Regions from separate parts of the Homo sapiens genome. Here region 2 is linked to region 1. The links are contacts of gene promoters, found by promoter capture Hi-C in human tissues and cell types (Jung and others, 2019). All regions are on one chromosome and are shown on one strand. The core of a region is centred on a gene start or on the middle of the fragment in contact, and the rest is flanking DNA. Distances in the headings are between cores, read along the strand shown.

Region 1 (3,234 bases), core at 234-2,733:
GGTTTCCCTTGCAAGGCTACCCTCAGCTATGGCAATGGGGGCTCCTATAAGCCTCACAGAGAGGTGCTACTTTAAAGAGAAACTGAAAAAAGTAAATAGGATCATATTACAGTGGAGCTGCTGAAACCTACGGCTTTAGGGCAAAAATGAAGTTATTTCACTTCAACTACCTTTAAAAAGCACAGACATTCCGAATTACAAGCAATTCTACCGCAGGAGACATGGATGTAATGTTTATACCCATCTGTGAACCTATCTAATGATGCCCTGGTGCAAAGATGAATAGATTCAGTTAAGAAATGATTGGTTTCTCTCTTTTCTTTTCATGTCTTCAGTTCCACTAGTAGTTACTACTTACAGGCTTCCTTGTGTCTCACACAACAGGTTTTTTCCCCTCTTAAATGAGAGTTACCCTCAGAGTGTGCTTTCAATCTGGATGTTAGCCCCTAGAGCTTCGCTGCTATAAATTCGTGTCCAAGTCTGCCTTCGTAATTAAACATGCTTTAGTTCTAAAATCTAAGTGAGTTAAGTGATTTTGATGTCGTTGCCCAAGATTTTTGGTTTTGTTTTTCGTAACTCCACATTTCCAGGTTTGAGGACCACAGTACAAGTTCCCTAAACAAGCCATCTCCACCAGGGCTGAGACTTAAGTAGGTATCAATGAGCAAACCCAGACGCCAGCAAGTAATTCTTTGTTACAACTATTTTCAGCTGCACATTTTTTTAAAATGGTTTTGAAACTTCCTGACAAACAATTTCATTCACAGCATGAGAAATAATGTAATCATGAGACATAGCAAAGACAAAGTATAAATATTTCCCTTACCTGGATCATGGAAAGGCACCAACGCAAAGTTGAAAAGAGGTCTTTTAGGTCTTTTCAAAGACGTCTCCAAAATTTTGGAAGCCCCTTCAATCACCTGAACTAAATCATCATACATAGAACCAGTCACATCAAACACAAAAGCCAACGTGGAGGCCCCCTCGGGAATTTCCTCAGCTCTGATCTCTGACTGGGGGCTCGCATCTTGAGCTAGGGAAGAATAAAGAAGAGCAAACAGGAATACTGTATGGACAACTTCCCAGGAAATCATTTTCTTTTTTTTCCCCCTCTTTTTCCCCCTCAGCGCCTAAGCACTGTGCTCAGTCCTCCTCAACAACAGGCAGAGGGTTTCCTCTCAGAGTAACTCATCAGACTCTTGGAATCTCTGAACTAGCAAAAAGTTTGGCGCTGAGAATCAGACGGGGACAAGCACCAAACTCGAATCCCTCCAGGGGTTGGGCAGGGCAGGGATGCGGCAGCTTTTGTCTGGATGCGGCTTCCTCCTGGACTGCTATCTGCCCGCGGGCCCTGGACAGCCTGTGGCGGAGTGCGGGCGGCGCGTCGGGTCCATGCCCCGGGGGCAGCTCTGAGCCTGCGGCGCCGCGGCCCGAATCCCGCTGCCCTCGCCGCCGCCGCTGCTCTCCGCCTGGGCCAGCGACTGAGGTTCCCAACTTTCCACTGTTTGCAGCTCACGAGCGACGAGGGGAAGCCTGGCTCGGCCTCGCCTCCTGATTGGCCAGTTGCCGTCCTCCCTCCTTTGCTCTGGAGGCCCCCCCGGAGGGTGACTTTTCCCTCCACTGATTGTAGGGTCAATTCAGTCCCAGGGAAGCGCTTACGGTGTCAGCTCGGTTCCCACCGGCACCGTTCCTAACCTGCAAAACGCTAGTGTAAACAATGGCTTTCAAGAATGTGTGGCAAAGACCCAAACCGAGGGACACCACACTAGCACAAAGGGAATTTTGTTTTTCTATTGTGTACAACGCGGCTTTAGACACCTCTTTCCTAATTCCCCCCAAAAGTCAAGACGCCCCAGCCCAGCCTCCTGCCTCTCAGCCCACAACTCGGCCCAGCCAGGAGGGGGAGCTGGAAAATTCTCTCAGCTGCGAGGCAGCCACACTATCGCTCTTTGATCTCCTCTGAGACTCTGGACTGCAGGGAAGGAAGGGAGGACAACGCTGAAGGGGCAAGAAGCCCAGGAAGAGGAAAGGGGCTGCTGAGGGAAATGAGAGACAAGAACTAGGTAGTCACTAACTGTAGAGGGGAATGTGAATACAGGATGGAAGCCCCGTAGAAAGGACAAGGAGGAGGGGCGAGAGAGGTGTGGGGAAAGATGAGACATAAAATTCATATTAAAGAGAAAATTGATTTTTTAATTGTATTATCAAGATTCACATTTGCTGAGCAGTTTGAATCCTACGCTCAGCATAGTAAGGCAGAATAATATCCCCGTTTCAGATTTCCTCCCCTGGAACAGTCATGCCTCAGGTCTCAGCCAAAGATCTATTGGAAAGGTGCTCCCCTCTATGGCATTTTCTTGCCAGTCAAGAAGGAAACCTCACCCTGGAAGACATGCCAACGTTTTTCCGTGTTGTGATTGCTATATACGTTATAGTACTAATAACAGAGATAAGAGGATAAGCAAAGAAAGTCTACCATGAACTAAGGATTCTTTATGTCATTTTAATAAAAACGCATTTCCTTCCTGGAAAAGGAGTTGTTGTCCAGATCCCAGCATTTAAAGAGGGGCAAACAGGCATCTTGATCTCTGTTTGGATGTATATTAGACCGCCCACCCAACGGAGATGCAGCCTGAGGAAGAGTTAGCTCCCACCAACCTTTTGTAATCTACAACTGTCTTCTCTTTCAGTCCCAGCGGCTGTGGAACCCGAGTTTATGATACCTATAAGTCATGTCACTTAAAGGAAGCAGACAGGCCATTTGGGCTGAGTGGGAATATGAGAGGAAAGGGGGAAGGTACTTCCTTCTCAAGCAGTATTTAGAGAATGCTATTTGAGTCTCCCATTCCGTTGTTTATTTAAAAAGGATTTCATTCTAAGTCTTAGAGACCTGAGCTATTCCAGGTGCTCAAGGGAGGCCACAGAGCCTAGTGATTAAGAGTTCTGGGTCAGATACCCTGGGTTGAAAGCCCAGCTGTGACATTTAACTGTGTGACCTTCAAGAAGGTTACCAAACTTTTTCAGACCTGTGTTTACTCAGCTGTAAATGGGAATAATGATAGCACCCACCTAATAAGGATTAAATGATCTATAAATGTTCCATGTGCACTTGAAAAGAATGCTGTTGGGTGGAATGTTCTATAAATGTTAATTAGGTCAAGTTGTTTAATAATGTTCCAATCTTCTATATCCTTACTGATTTCTGCCTATTTGTTCTATCAGTTTTTGAGAGTG
Region 2 (3,234 bases), core at 203-2,702, 380 kb before region 1:
TAAGTAGAAAAGGGATTCCTCCTTTTATTTCTGGGTTAATACCTGGGTGATGAAGTAATTTGTACAACAAACCCCCATGACACTAGTTTACCCATATAACGAACCTGCATGTGTACCCCTGAACTTAAAATAAATGTTTAAAAAAAAAAAGAAAAGGGATCCCTTTTGTAAAGTAGTAGAATAACGAAGTGATAGCATTATCATGTTTCAATCCATGTTCCAAGCCAATTCTACCTTGGACAGTGAGATCCACAGTTCTTTTATCATCTCCAGCACCGTTTGTCACAGTACATTCATAGGTTGCAGTGTCATCCACAGAAGGGGAAATAATTACTAGTGAACCTGAAGAAAGGAGCCTAGAAGACACATTTCAAAGCATGAGATACTATATGTAGGTTTTCATAAATTTTCCCAGCTAGTTTAACATGGTACCATGTTGTAAATTGATGAAAACAGTACTCTTCCCTCATGTTAAAATTAACATCATGTCCCTGAGGCCAACTTTATGCATTAGAGTTTATGTTTGTATGGCAGTGGCTTTCTAGAGCCTCAAACTTGATATAATATTTACAGGAAGTAATTGTGGGAAGGATTGTCTGAAGAGGGAATCTTACATTCTCTAAATGCTTATATTATGATCAACCTGGCTCTCCTAGGAGAAATACAGTACAATGAGAACACTGATAACAGCCACTGTTTACTGGGCATCAGATACACTCCAGGCACCATCTTAAATGCTTTGCATAAATTATCTTTAAATTTCACAATAACCTAGCAGGTTGATATTTGTTTATTTCCATTGACAGATGGCTAATGACAAGTCTGTGTGTCTCACCCCTTTATGTACTTTGCATGTCTCCTTAAATGTGTGGCTACCTTGTAGATAATATGGCAATATCTATTTCAAAAAAAGTATATATATATATATTTAGTTTTGAACAAGTGTGTGTATGTGTGTATATATATTCAAAACTAAAATCTAGAACACTTCACATTTTAGGAGGTTTAGTAAATACACATACATGATTTAAAGTAAATCTAAATTAGAATATCTATTTGATTTCACACTGTGCATGATAGAAATGATTTAATAAAAAACATTAATAAAACATATTTGACACACCTTTTAATTCAAAAGCATGGCACATTTTCCATACAGTGTATACTTTCAAGTCACTGAACCTCCCAATGCCAAAAGATTAAAAGGGTGAAAAAGAGACATGATAGAATTTCAACTGCAGCACTCCTAGTTTTATATTTCCTGATGTATTGGAATTGATTTTTGTTAAAGTGGACATAAGAGAGCATTTATTTTTAGCGCTATGGCAAATGTTTGACAGAGTAATAATCTGATAGCTCAGGTGAGATACAAAAAATGATGCTCACCTATAACATCAGAAATTCTTAGTGATTTAAAGTTTAGCCTTTGAAAAATAGATATTGCCATATTATGAGCTATGGTATTAAAGCTTGGAAAAAAGCAAAAAAAAAAAATGGAGAAAATGCTGTTTTTCCTCCCTACACATTCTGCCAATATCTAAATTGTATTTTAAGGTATAAAATTTGACTTTTATTCTACAACTAAAGATCGTATTTATTTTTACAGAATAGTTTTTCTTTTATATAAAATGATGTTTTTATCCTTTGCCTTTATAAAAGTCCAAAAGGTACTAAACAAATAAGGCAGGATATAAATCTAATCCTATATATAATCACTGACATTCATCCACAGGGTTTATGTATGGAAAAGATGACCTATAATTCAGAAAAATATTTTAGGCTGAAAAACTAAGTCCATATTAAGGAAAAAAACCCTCTATATGCTAGCTAATTTGTTATAGTCTATATATTTGCTGACCCCACTGATAGAATTAAAATGTTGATTCATTACAAACTGTTTGTAAATAGTTGGTAGGAGTTTTAAATTATCCTTACCTGTATGAGTTCTGATTTTGATCCACATTAAGAAGATGCCCATTTTTTCTCCAATTGATTGATGGTTTTGGTATCCCAGTAGCCTCACAAGCCAGAGTAGTTTGAACATTTACTATTACAGTCATGTTGGTAGGACCCGGAGCAATAGATGGAGGAACTAAGACAATGTCACCAAATAAGAAGGAAACACAGTCAGCAAATAGCGTGCCATTTGAAATATTTCTGCTGAACTGAAATTAGTCATTATTAACTTGCCTCATAGTTATGAGCAAACAAGACTCTGCAAATTTTAATAGTGCTGTGATGATATTAACTATACTAAGGAGAAAACTTGGGGCTTGCTATTCATACCATAATGTAAATTGCTTAACTAGCCTTCAATGTCAAGATCTTTATGACCTCACTAGTTTAGGCAATCAAAGAGCATTTGACACAGAGACCGGATGTTGTCTATAAACGGATATTTACCATGGACCTGTAAATCTATTCGCCTGCGATCTGTTCCAGCAGCATTGGTGGCCATACACAAATACCGTCCAGTGTCAGTGACATGTGCTGATTGAATATGAAGGAATCCATTTTCCAAGATGGAATATCTACAAGAGAAATCACAAGTGAAGTCTTCTGAATCAGCCTTTTTTGATTGTTCATATTTTGACTGAGGGAAATGTTAAACACTTGGTGAAATCCATTCAGTATTTTTCCTGTTTCAGATGACACATGTTTATGATACCCTTGGTGGAAGAAAAGGCTACGATGCAAAGGTGCATAACAGATGGGCTTGTGATCTTTAATGGATTATAATCATTATGTAGACATAAGCCTTAGGGATTATGCTTTTAAAATACTAAATTTGGGCCTGGAGTGAAGGCTCAAGGCTGTAATCCCAGCACTGTGGAAGGCTGAGGTGGGCGGATCACCTGAGGTCAGGAGTTCGAGACCAGCCTGGCCAACCTGGTGAAACCCCATCTCTACTAAAAATACAAAAAATTAGCTGGGCGTGCTGGCGTGCGTCTTTAATCTCAGCTTACTTGGGAGGCTGAGGCAGGAGAATCAATTGAACCCAGGAGGTGGAGGTTGCAATGAGCCAAGATCATGCCACTGCACTCCAGCCTGGGCAACAGAGCAAGACTCTGTCTCAGAAAAATAATAAAATACTAAATTTTGATTCTCGTATTAAGATGAAATGCTGATTCTAAACATAATGAGACCAAAATAGTGCACTAGGAAAAAAAATTAAGAATTTGTATTTCAGGTCTTATAGCATTTTTTAATTTTCCAGTATGGTTACCTTGCATG

Evidence for each region. Contacts are between HindIII fragments. The study calls those that stand out against the background at their distance.
Region 2: a fragment that was not itself captured here is called in contact with the fragment with the promoter of HMCN1 in region 1 in 1 of the 25 tissues and cell types used here (mesenchymal stem cells).

What each region holds. Positions count from the first base shown.
Region 1 is chr1:185,732,640-185,735,873 of GRCh38, reverse strand. It overlaps HMCN1 (hemicentin 1), which reads right to left and starts at 1,483. Exons shown (of 107, transcript NM_031935.3): 1 at 827-1,483. The coding sequence starts at 1,094. The HindIII fragment of the contact is 9,057 bases long and covers 1-3,234 here.
Region 2 is chr1:186,114,116-186,117,349 of GRCh38, reverse strand. It overlaps HMCN1 (hemicentin 1), which reads right to left. Exons shown (of 107, transcript NM_031935.3): 73 at 3,227-3,234; 74 at 2,404-2,531; 75 at 1,936-2,092; 76 at 235-356. Among named protein-coding and RNA genes, the nearest start is that of PRG4, 180 kb to the left of the region's middle. The HindIII fragment of the contact is 5,610 bases long and covers 1-3,234 here.